Linked DNA regions of Homo sapiens: regions 1 and 3 are each linked to region 2. The links are contacts of gene promoters, found by promoter capture Hi-C in blood cells and fetal thymus (Javierre and others, 2016). All regions are on one chromosome and are shown on one strand. The core of a region is centred on a gene start or on the middle of the fragment in contact, and the rest is flanking DNA. Distances in the headings are between cores, read along the strand shown.

What was found. The method cuts DNA at HindIII sites, captures the fragments that hold promoters and counts their contacts. A CHiCAGO score of 5 or more calls a contact.
Region 1: a contact is called between a fragment that was not itself captured here and the fragment with the promoter of NALCN in region 2, in 1 of 17 cell types (erythroblasts). The highest score is 5.6, in erythroblasts.
Region 3: a contact is called between a fragment that was not itself captured here and the fragment with the promoter of NALCN in region 2, in 1 of 17 cell types (endothelial precursors). The highest score is 7.3, in endothelial precursors.

What each region holds. Positions count from the first base shown.
Region 1 is chr13:101,899,960-101,904,174 of GRCh38, reverse strand. The region is part of intron 1 of FGF14 (fibroblast growth factor 14); the gene reads left to right. Among named protein-coding and RNA genes, the nearest start is that of FGF14, 15 kb to the left of the region's middle. The HindIII fragment of the contact is 403 bases long and covers 1,870-2,272 here.
Region 2 is chr13:101,413,373-101,417,810 of GRCh38, reverse strand. NALCN (sodium leak channel, non-selective) reads left to right here and starts at 1,303. Exons shown (of 44, transcript NM_052867.4): 1 at 1,303-1,498. RefSeq lists enhancers at 1,401-1,951, 1,952-2,502. The HindIII fragment of the contact is 9,792 bases long and covers 449-4,438 here.
Region 3 is chr13:101,143,807-101,147,946 of GRCh38, reverse strand. It overlaps NALCN (sodium leak channel, non-selective), which reads left to right. Exons shown (of 44, transcript NM_052867.4): 16 at 3,051-3,187. Among named protein-coding and RNA genes, the nearest start is that of LINC00411, 200 kb to the right of the region's middle. The HindIII fragment of the contact is 3,192 bases long and covers 1-3,157 here.

The sequences.
Region 1 (4,215 bases), core at 822-3,321, 490 kb before region 2:
GAAAACTTGGGCAGGTCTGTTAACACGCAGAGACCTCTATGCAATGAACCCATTGAACAAGACAATTTGATAGATGCCTCTCAGCTTTCAGTTCTTCTTTTGCACGCTGTGTAGAGTCCCTCATGAATTAGATCTTAGAACATTGAGACAGTAGTGTATTCCTTTGCCAGAGCAATTATATGTTACATTAGAAGGCCACCTACATTGTGGTTTTAATTTGTAGGATGGATACTTAAGGTATCCATGACTTCAACACTATGCAATCTATGCCTGTAACAAAATTGCACCTGTACTCCGTACACTCATACAAACAAGCAAACAAACACAAAAGGCCCTCTGGAGAACAGGACTGTCCTCTAGATGCTGACAGTCTATGTTCAGTGCCTGTCTCCCTGTCTCTGCCTTACCCCCTTTCTTTAGGGTTGGCTTAGACTCCATGCTTCCTGTTAGCTGCTCATTAAATGCAGCCTGAAAATAGTTGGTTAATCATCTTTGTATATTCTATAGATTCTGTATATTTGTGGCACACAGCCCTCCCTCCTTCCCTATAGTCACCCTGCTCTATATTTAGGCATATAAAAGCTACAATTCTCCTGTATTCACAGATTTGAATATAGAGACAGGAAAAAAAAAGCCTACCCAAGTCTCCACTAAAAGTCTGTTTAATGCCTCCCAGTATTTATAGAACTCGATTCTTCCAGACACTTTTATTTGTTTTATCTTAACAAGTCTCATTATTTTCTTCTAGGGTTCGAATCTGTACAGAATTATTTTTAAAAATTACAGCTTGTGTACATAACAGCAGTCACACTAGGTGCAAAGTTAAAACCCATTTAAAGAGAATAAAGCTTCAATGAGGAAATATGGAAATAATGACAAGCCTAGGAAAAGAGGTCTAACTAACATGAATGACCACACACACACACACACACACACCACAATTAGAGTCTCCACAACTCTGATCTGTAACTTAAATGAATGTCAAATTGCCTCACAGGAATTTCAGATCTTCAGTCTGAAGTTCTGGTAGATAATATTGAACATATTCCTCAGCAACAGCATGCATGCTTCTAAATAGCCACTAGAATTCATTGGAAAAGAGCAATATACAAACAAACAAAAAACCCCAGAAAACTGGCAAGCTGATCTAGATGGCAACATTGGATGAACTAGAAAACTGAGACCACTGGATACTAACCAGTTTGAGATAACAGTATCAGCTGGCTTTCTTTGGAAGAGAGAGAGAAGCACTAAATAAGTGAGGTTCTCAATTTTAATAAGTTGCATTATTCAAACATAGAACTAAAGCTATTAGATTTTTATTAAAAGTGCCTCCTTTGAAAGAAGGCTAGACTAATGTGTTTCTGATTAGCAGTCAGCCAGTGAAATTTCAGATTCTCAAAACCATGACAGGATTTTGAGCAGGAAAGACATCCCTTGATAAAACTCTCAGTAAATAGTAATTTTGCAAGTGAAGAAAATAATTATAAGTCAAGAGAATTGCTTTATGGCTTCAGGAAGTTAGTTATTCTGCACTTACTGGCGCTTGCATTTAAGGTGATTTCATTTAGATTGTATTACACACAGATGGTTTGATTAAACATATGAGTTAATAGTGGCTTGGTATCAATATTGGCTGCATCACTATTGGCTGCAAGCATCTTGTTTCATGAGGAAAAATGGGGTGGGCTGTAAACTGCATATATTGGCATGGTATTTAAAGTTCCAATTAAGAAACTATATAACACACACAAATATTGGGTATTTGTCTCTTGGGTTTGTTGTTAAGAAACGTATGAGCCTCTTTCATTTAAATACCTCTGGACACTGTAAAGAACCTTAGATAGACACAAGAAAAGCCAAGAAGCTTAAAAAAAGAAAGAGAAAGAGCATAAGGACAGAAAATAATAATATAATAAAAAAAAGGGAGCGATAAACCTCTAAAATGTAGGTGCCAGAATTCTTGGGATGGGGGACCTTGCCTACTCTTGTATATATTCTCATCTCAGAGTGGCTCTAAGTATATGGTCCTCTTTAAGCACTTTTTGTTTTGAATAATCTAAGAATGTTGCTAAATTGATAAAACTGAGATATTCCTATGGTTTCAAGTAAAAATAAAGCAACCAATATCTTAGCTCATCAAACTTCATCATTATCTGCATTGAACTTCACAAAAACTTTGATGTGGTGATGGTATCACAAGTATATGAATATGTCCAAACTCATCAAAATGAATTGCATTTTTGTATGTTAATTATGTCTCAGTAAAGCTTAAAAAACCCTTTAAAGTAGATAATATTCTCTTTATTTTTCAAACGAAAGAATGGAAACTGACAGATGTTAAGTAATTTTTCCTGGGTCATATAATCTATGGTAGTAGTAGTACTTTTCTATTTCTTCTGCACAAACTCCTCGCGTATCTGTTTGTTTGATTAGTTGGGTTTTTTGGGTTGTTTATTTGTTTGTTTTTTGAGACAGAGTCTTGCTCTGTCCCCCAGGCTGGAGTGCAGTGGTGCGATCTCGGCTCACTGCAACCTCCACTTCTGGGGTTCAAGTAATTCTCCCACCTCAGCCTCCTGTGCAGCTGGGGTTACAGGTGCACACCATAACCTCTAGCTGATTTTTGTATTTTTAGTACAGACAGAGTTTCACCATGTTGTCCAGGCTGGTCTTGAACTCCTGACCTCAGGTGACCCACCCGCCCCGGCCTCCCAAAGTACTGGGATTGCAGGCATGAGCCACCGCATCCCATCTGAATTCCCCATTTTGATATGACTCCCTCTTCACTTGGGGTCTCTTTGATAACAAATAAGAAAAATGGACAGAGGGCTAGTTGCAAGAAATCAGATTTGGAAGTCACTACTTGGGAAGTGGGAGGGAGACATCAAGAATTATGGCTTTAGTTCATCTTCTCCCATCCCTTTCTCGCAAATGTTGCTATTTCAATAATAGGAATTCCACCATATTTTTTTTTTCAGAAAGACTTTCTTTATATTTTCTTGTTTCATAAAATTTGAAACACCATAAAATCCAGGAGACAACCTAACAGAATAAATGTTCTTCCCAACCTGTGGGAAAAATTATAATCCTCTTTCTGTCCATTCCTAGCTTTTATTTCTCCTCTAAAAGGCATTTCTTTTATTTTGATGAGAAAATCCTTTCAGTATTTCTCAAGCAAGACTAAAGTTGAAGATACACAAAATTCCTAGAGTAGAGCACTTGGGCAGATTTATTAAATAACCTATATATTGAAGATGATATGGAGGTCATTTAATTCTATTTCATAAATATAGCAGTTTTTACATTCAAAATGCTCTTTCACTTTCAAAATAAATATTATTGAGATATAACATGCACATTAAAAGAAGTCCACAAATCATACACAACTTAATTAATTTTTACAGAGTGAATAAATACACTTGTGTGAAGACCATGCGGATCAAGAATAGAGCACTACCCGGCCCCCAAGAAACGCTCCTCATGTGCTTTTCCAATCAATGAAAACTAAAAGCAGCCACTCTCTTGACTTCTAACACAATATATTAGTCTTGCCTACTTGAAAAAACTATATATCAATGATGTTATGCAGCATGTACTTTATTGTGTCTGGCTTCTTTTACCTAATATTGTATTTGCAGGTTCATTCATGTTATCTCTGCTAGTAGTTCATAAAATCTGTAGTGAAGTCCCCCTTTTTTTGAGATTGACGACTTGTACCTTTTCTCTTTTATCTCATGCAGTTTCGTTTGGGTGTATTAAATTTTATTTAGTCTTTTTCAAAGAAGTGACTTTTGGCTTAGCTGATTTTTCCTATTGTAATTTTTTTGTATTAAAATTTCTTCTTAATTTTATTATTTGTTTTTAATTCCTTTAGGTTAAATTTGCGTTCTTTTAACTTTGTGCAAGTATAAATTGTAAGCTTGTTGATTTTAAGCCATTGAAGAATTTAAACATTCATGGAAAATGGTAAATTTACCTGTAGTCATGGCTTTAGCTACACTAAAAAGTAGCTCTCTGTTATATTTTAATTTTCACTTAGTAAAATATTTTCTTATTCTGTGATTTCTTTCACTTAGGATTATTTAGAAGTGCTTGTTTAATTTCAAAATATTTAACAATTGTCTGGTTATCTTTTTATAACAAAAAATTACTAAATTTCTAGACTAAATCTACCATAATCAGAGAACAAATAAAATAGCAAATTGAAAACAAAAT
Region 2 (4,438 bases), core at 54-2,553:
AACAAGCAATTGAAAGCCGCAAATAAAGATGATGAAACAAGTTGGTAAATACTTTTTCTAAGCAAACTGGTTGTAGATTTAGCATTGTTTAAATTACTGTCAATTTTTTCTTATGAGGAGTGATTTCATCATTTGTTTAAAACCTGGCTTTTGACACAGTTTTTCTGAAGTCTTTAGAAATTTGAAAAATTATCTCGCATGACTCTGTATTTCATGAAATACCAATATTTTAACATTTCCCTGTAAACAATAAAACGTACTAATATGGATTATGAATGTGAACAAATTGTGAATGGACTTTTTAAGAAAGTAGATTAATTAAATATCTGTAACCAGAAAATACATTTTTAAAATGTAGGTTTGTGTAGTTTTACTTCTATACCTTGCCACATAACATTTTGTGATAGACAAATGCTCTTTGTTTAGAATTTCTCTTGTAGAGAAAGCTTCATTCAGTTGTTTCTTTCCCTTTATTTATATGCCTGTGTGCATGATGTCTAAATCACTGGTCAGGAGTTCCCTGGGGATTTTCGTATCTGACTACATGGCAAGATTCCAGACCCAAAGTAAACCTTTCAGAGAGTGGGAATGAGTGGGAGGATGTCGCCCTGGGCATGGTGCTTAGGAGGCCAGATTTCCCTAAACCTGCTCTGCTGGGAGCCCTAGGAAGCCTCAGATGCAGTCTGCTGTCCAGGTATACTCACAGGGTATGGGGTGGGGGACTGTCAATTTCTGAATAGACTTTGTCTCATCCACACGACAACATATTTTAATTTTAAAGGCGAACGTCAACCTATTTAGAAAACTATAAGTGTGACTGATGCATTCATTATTTAATAACTCCGGGGTGAAACTTGAGGTGAACGGTTTCACCCTTTCATACTCAGGAATGGAACTAGTCCTCGGTACCGTGCACAGTCTGACCTCACGCTCGCACGCTGGGCTCCCGGCCTCCTGGCAGTGCACTTAAGTGTACCCCGCGTGTGCCCGGCGGACTCCCGTGCACACCGCCGCCGTGCTGTTGAGTACGAAAGACCCCCGAGAGGAGCTCGCAGATGAGAGCCTAGCTGTTGCTGTGAGACTGACTGCGGGTGGCAGCCGGCAAGAAGGAACTGCCAGTACCGACCCTGGCGCTCCCCACCAACTGCGGCGCAGCCTCCTCTGCGGTGCCCGCCCTTCGGCATCACTGCAGTCCCTGTAGCAAAGCTAACTTTAAAAATTTAAATAAAATAATAATTTTTTAAAGGCCCGAAAACTCCGGCTCCCACCCCTCCCCCAGCCTGCCCGGCGGCGGCGGCGCTCAGTGAGTGACACGGCGAGCGTGAGCCGCGGCCCCAGCCGGGCCGAGCGCGCTGCCTGAGCTGAGCCGCCGTAGGTGAGGGGCCCGCGTCCCCGCCCGCCCTGGGCGCCGCGCCTGGCACTGATCCTGCCGGTCGCCCACTGTCGCCGCCGCCGCCGCCCGCGGGCACCATGACAGCTCTGAGCGCTGGGGTTACAGGTTGGTCACCGCCGCCGGTGCCCGGGAGGCTGCGGCGCGGCCGGCTCCGTGCCCTGCGCCCGAGGCCCGCGATGCGCGCTCGTTAGTTCCTTGGCCGGTCCGGGCCAGGACGGCTCAGGGGCGCTGGGGCTGCGAGAGGGGCTGCTAGAGGGGCTGCGGGCGGGGGCCCCGCGCGGGGGAGGGGTGGGGAGGGGCGCCTCCACCCGAGAGCGGGGCGGTGGGGTCCTTGCCGGCCTGGCCGGGGCGCGGGAGCCGCGATGCGCCCTCCCTATTCCTGCGCGTGGGTGTCGGGGGCGCCTGCCGCGGGATGCCCCTGGGCTGGCTTGGGAAGCCCAGGGCCGGCGACACCTCGGGCCTGCCCCGCCTGGGCATCTAGCAGGTGTTGGGGGGCAGGTGGCTGAGGACGAGGCCACTGGGCATCACTACAGCGCTGCACCTGCCCCCTCGGCACCAGGGCCGCTGCCTGGGTAAACCTCTGGGCCAACGCGCGGGTGGGGAGGTGGGGGTGGGCAGCCTGGCTCCAGCAGGTCTCCGCGGGGGCTCCGCGGCCTTGCCCCACCCCCATGCTCCTGTGGATTGCTCCTTGCTAAATGTCCCTTATGATATTCATTGGCCTTGTTAAGCAGCCGTCATTAGGGTGGCTACACCGAACGCAAAACAGTGTCCTGCCAAGCAACACCATTTTGTCACTGAATCTTTAAGACACCAGCAAGGATGGCCTGGCTGGGATCCCTCTGGGGGCCCAGATCGCAGTCATTTTGCTGACTTAATGTTCCTCTTTCAGGATGGTGTGAGAATGCTGAACTCAGACCCTTAGTGCTTGAAATACCTTAGAATAAATCTTTCAGTTTCAGGTACAATTTTTCAGACACTGTATTATTAAGGATGTGTGAATACACGCTCACTTTCAGGCCTCAGAAGGTTTTACTCTTAATCTGGTGTTCGTGTGGTCATCAGCTAGGCCCGACTGCCCTGGTGGTGAAATGTGGGTTGAGGACCAGTGACCTTCGTGTTAGTAGTTGGTGGATAACACCTCTAATAGGGGATCAAAAATTAACAGGTGGCGATTTTGAAATATATATGTATGTATATATATATATATATGTGTGTGATTTGTATGTTCATAACTACAACTGTGATTTGATATGGCCTGGGAGAGGAGCGGTTTCACTATGGTAGTTACCCCTGAGGCAGATGCATCTCAGGACTGGCTTTTTAAATTCAAAGATAAGGTTTCCACAGTTCTAAATAAAAATCATGGCTTCCCAAACATCTGCAACGAGAAACATTTACTCCCTAACTGGTTGGCTGTCATTCTGCGTGCTTTTCTAGAGTCGATTTTTCGTTCTTCTGTAGTATACTTTGACCTAGCCACTGCTAAAACCAGACAGTGTGAAGACAAAATCCAGCTTTGGAGAAAAACTTAAAAAGTGAAAAGGTTCAGTTGGATCCTCTTCTGTGTTCATAGAAGACATAATCTGTTTGCAGAATAAATGTGCCGTCACTGATAAGGACTATGCTAAAATCTCTACAGAACTCTAGGAGAAAGCATGTCTTATAAAATAGTGGTTGTACACTTATAACTTTGGATAGGACTTGCAAGATATTCAAAGGAGAAATGTACTTAAAAAATGTACTTAAAAAAAGTCTACTCAAAATAGTGTCATTTAGTTGCAATTTAGTGAACTGAAGATTTGAGTAGCATTTTCTTCTTCTTGGGTATGGCATTTCTTTGAAATGGTTTCCAGGTGATTTTATCATTCCGGCATGCTTTGTGTGTGCATGTATGTGTATACACAAATGTACACATTTGTTTTATCATTTATCGATGATGTTCAGATAATTTCAGAATTTCCATAGCTGTATAAATTTATCCCAGGTCAGAGTCACATGTGGATTTCAAGTTTGTGAATGAAAATTCACATCTACACCTCTATATCCTAAGATAAGCTAAGCACTGGGCCAGAAGCTGGGTGGTGAGTGAGAAAAAGAGATAAACTGAGAGCCTAAGAATCCTTCAGGAAAGACAAATATGTAAGCAGGTGGATATACAGTGAGATGTCTTATTTTCTAGTTTTGCTGTGGAAACTATGATAGTGAGCTTAAACATATTAAGAATGGTCCCCAAGGCCACACACGGTGGCTCATGCCTATAATCCCAGCACTTTGGGAGGCCAAGGCAGGCCTATTGCTTGAACCCAAGAGTCCAGACCAGCCTGGGCAACATGGTGAAACCCCGTCTCTACAAAAAAAAAAAAAATTCACCAAGTGTAGTGGTGTACACCTGTAGCCCCAGTTACTTGGGAGGCTGAGGTGGAAGGATCGCGTGAGCCCAGAGATGTCAAGGCTGCAGCAGGCTATGATGGCACCACTGTACTCTAGAATGGGCGACTGGGCACAGAGTGAGACTCTGTTTAAAAATAAAAAAAGAATGCCCCTGTCCCAAAATGTTATCAACATTTTAGAGCTTCACTCATGTTATACAATTCTCGCCTGTCTCAAGGACCAGCACAGATTTTCATACCTTCAAACTCTATGCAAATGCTTAAATTTTTTTAATTGATTTTTTGAATTTTAAAGTAACCAAAGTTGATAGAGATGATAGAATGATAGAGAAAAAAGAGTAAACAGCTAGTTTTAATAACCGAAGACAGATGACCACAATATCTGTGTGTTTTTTGTAGTCTTTTTAAGGGCTTGACTTCAGGTAGTTGTCATCGTGGCATTGGACAACTTTTATACTGTTTTTACCACTGAATATTTATTATAAATATTTAAAATATTTCTATATAATTTTCTTACTTAAAAATTGTAAATGGCTGTATAACACCATACCCAGTAAATACAGCCTCATATATTTAACCATACCTCTATCATTGGACATTTGCTGTTTCCAGTTTTTCATCATTATAAACAGTGTCCTGATAGTTATAATGTAGA
Region 3 (4,140 bases), core at 312-2,811, 270 kb after region 2:
AAACAAGTAGAATTTGATGGAGTTCAAGAGAAAAAGAGGAAGAAAGGGGAACCCAGCAGAGGGCCAGCAGAGGGCCGGCAGAGGTGGGGGAGGCACAGAGGTTCTGAGGCAGAGGGTGCAGATGTTTCCAAGCAACTGAAGGATGTGACTGGAACCCGGTGTGGGGATAGAGCTAGCTGAGGCTGGACAGGCAGGGAGGGGCCAAAAAAAGGCCTCTGAGCCTAGATTGAAGATTGAGATTTTGACCAGGCATGGCAGCTCGCACCTGTAGTCCCGGCTACTCAGGAGGCTGAGGCAAGAGGATCCCTTGAGCCCAGGAGTTTGAGGCCAGCCTGGGCAACATTGCAAGATCCCATATCTTTAAAAAAGAAAAGTTTATATTTTTGTTTTTGTTTGTTAAAACAAAAGTTTTTTTGTTTGTTTGTTAAAAGCAGTGGGTAGCCAGGTGTGGTGGTGCATGCTTATAATTCCAGCGACTCAGGAAACTGAGGCTTGAACCAGAAGGCAGAGGTTGCGGTGAGCCAAGATCGCACCACTGCACTCCAGCCTGGGAGACAGAGCAAGACTCCATCTCAAAAAAAAAAAAAAAAAAGAGAGAGAGAGGAAGAAAAAGGCAGTGGAATGCCATTGAAAAGTTTTAAGACAGAGCGTGAGAAATGGCAATAACCGCAGAATGAAGAGCAGATTAGAAAGAGCTGAAGCAGATGGAGAAAGCACTGCAGGAAATGCAGGAACCCAGTGGTGCATTGGCCAGGGAGGCACTGGTGGGGATGCAGGCAGTGGGCAGGCCTAGAGGCTTTTAGGAAAGAACTCTGTGTTCTCATTTCAATGATATGTCCCAATTAATATACCATTTGCCCTTGTGTCTGTTTGAAGACATTGAATTCTCATAAAATATGCATACCAGTCCTGATACATCTAGAGCCCCCAAGTCAACTCTTCTGACCACGTGTGTCTATTCTGCTGCCCGTGAAGTCTCGTGGAGTAGAAGTAGTGCCTTCATTTTTTTTCTTATTTCTCTCTTTGCTCTATACCTTGTGTTTCCGAGCACTCTGTTCCTATATCTGCCAGAGTGGCCATTCTATTTTATTATCATTGTCTCTTTATAGAACTATCTACCCAGTTATACTGTGGGCTCCGTGAGGGCGAGTGCAGTGACTTATTTCTTTTTATATCCCCTGAGCTTAGCACAGAACCTGACCTGTAAGATTTGATTTATAAGTGACAGTATCAATGTATAAATAAATGAGTCAGCAAATGCATGAATTAACAATACTTTATTTCTGCTCTGTCTTATCACCTTTGGCCTGATATACCTGCCTTACACTCTGATCTGATCTAATAGATTAACTGCTTTTTCTACTTCTGCTCTATTTACCACTGACAAGTATTTTTCTACTAGTTGTATCAACTTTTAGAAAACAAGACTCTTCCTGGTAAATCTCTTTACTCGTGTGTGGAATCATTTTTCTAACTGTGTACCTCTCACAGAGATGCTACTACTTTTTGTTTTGTGTCTTTGGGAGCTAATTCCTTACCATTGTCATCATCATAACCATGGAACTGTTGAGAACGTGCCATTTTGCACACATTACTGCGTTGAGCACTCCAGTTAGGAAGGGAGGAAGGCAACGAACAGCAGTGACTCCTTCTCCAAATAAGATTACCATCTAAGACAGAAAAACCAAAGGCTACCCACAAAATCAAATCAGACTTACAAATGGCTAAGGTAAATGTTTATGTTACACAAAACAAAAACATAAGAGCGATTTCTGCAGCCTAATAAGAAAACCAGAAATCAGGATGTATAATCTCATCATGAGCTCACAACCAATAGGATAGTTGAGTCATCCATCATATTGAAATGGGAATGTTTCCCCAAAAAGAAGCCCTCCTGTTCTCCTTAGCCAATTTGTATTTCCACATATAGGAGGGATGCATTGCCATCTCTCTTCCTGTTTTAAAAGCTCTCTTGGCCTCTAATTCTTATCTTTCCATAATTCCTAAAACAAATTATAGAGTAAAACCATACCCAACAAGGAGGTAAATGAGTGGATGATTTTTGAAACCCACCCCCCAAATCCCTCCAAAAAGGCAGCCTGAATTACATGTACTCTTTGAAAGGCATCAGTGTTAAAAGATGCAGTTTGGGAAGCCGGGACAGAAGACAGGGCAGACGTGGGGAAGGGTGTTCCACTCTGCAGAAGGTCCTGGAGAAGGGGAGAGGTAAACAGAAGTAAAGAGGGACTCCAAGAGACGTCGGCACTGGGAGAGAAAAAGAGAGCATAGGAAAGTATAGCATGAATTCTGGAAGCCACAGTCCACCTTTGTAGTATCTTAGTTCAGCCTTGTTCCAGTTTATGATGTTAAACCTGAGCTTCCCTGAAACTCAATTTGTAGAAATATAAATATACACTCTTAAATAAATCCATTTGATTGTCATTCCTCACAAAGATATCATATGGCATTTAAGTTCGTCGTGTCCAAGCATGTTTGCAGCCAAATGGAAAACTCGCTGCATGGACCAAATGTGGTATTTGTGTTTTGAGCTTTTCTGTTTTAATCTGCTAGGCGACATAACCAATTTTCCTGCCATTGTCTCTCTTTACAAATGCTACTACTTAGTATGATTCTGTAGTTAATTTTTTTTAAATTTTTCATGGTTTTTAAAAATTTTTAATTCTAGCGTTAGGCATGTGTAAACAAATTTTATTGTTTAAATATGCAAGTAATAGTAAACCATTAAAAATGTCTGAGATGAAAAGAGACTTGTCTTTGGGAATAAAATGACATAAAGTTTTCCTTGAATTTTTTTCTGGTTTAGTTTTTTTGTTGTTAAGTTTTGTTTTTGTTTTTTCTGTTAACTCAAAAGTTTTAGCTCATAGAGCAATTTATGGCGGGCAAGAGAGGTATACTTGGTAGGCCTTTGCTGCCATCTACTGGCATTTCATGTAATTACTTATTGCTTCCATTCTAAAACTAATTTTGTGTAACGTATATAATAGTATTATAGGTTCCCCCTTTTTTTCTTCTTTCCAATTTTTCTTTAGTTAAAGCAAAGTGAAGCAAATGCGGACACCAAAGAAAAGCTCCCTTTACGCCTGCGAATCTTTGAAAAATTTCCAAACAGACCTCAAATGGTGAAAATCTCAAAGCTTCCTTCAGATTTTACAGTTCCTAAAATCAGGTACCAAAATACTTCTTTAATTGCATATTTCACATATATTGTAAAAGATTCATCATCTTAAATCTGATTTAACCCTTCTTTTAAGTATATGTGGGTTGGGTTTCTTTCTATTTTATTGTCATCTTTCTACTACCTCTACCTCTATTTAAAATAAATAAATAAATAAACAACTTTGACTCTTTTAAGCAATGTATTCACAGAAGAGTCACTTTATAACTGCAGTAGCCTAAGCAAGAAGGCTGCTTCCCATCGCTTCTCTCTGGGATGACTCCTCGGGAATGGGACATCCCAGGAAACTGGAGAAGCTGCTCAGTGTTGCAGGGATGGCAGGTAGACATCAATCTCAGACCCCAACCGTATGAGACTAAAATTGCCTCTGTGGCCCTTTTATTTTCAAGCAAACAGGGAAACCACAGCTGGCCCAGTTTGTGTACTACTACAGTGTTTATGGAGCCTACCATGTCAGGTTACCATATATAATTTGCCTTCCACTTTTTAAAAGAAGAACCGTGGCGTTTTTCCACTCATACTGATTTGATTTTCTACCACGTTTGCCCTCCAGTTAAGCAAATGCATAAAAGATGCTTTAAACACCTATTTTTAATAATAAAAGGAAATTCTTCTAGTTATAGCTCAAGAAATTACAAACAGAATTACAGTAATATGTTACTAGCTTTAAAAATAATTCTGTGGGGGGTTATAAAAGTATGAGACTATATATGGTGCCATAATATTTAAAATTCGGGTAGAAATATATTTGCATTTCTAATTTTAAAAAACAAAATTAATTGAATTTGGTAATTTGAAGAGACGTTACTTGAATTTTCGTTATGCTTTGAAGATCAGATGAACGCACTTGCTTTTGAGTCTTAAAATGTAAAATTCTCTCTTAGTCATTCTTATGATAAATGGACATTTAGAGAGAGCAACTAATTCTTCCAAGTCTTAGAGGG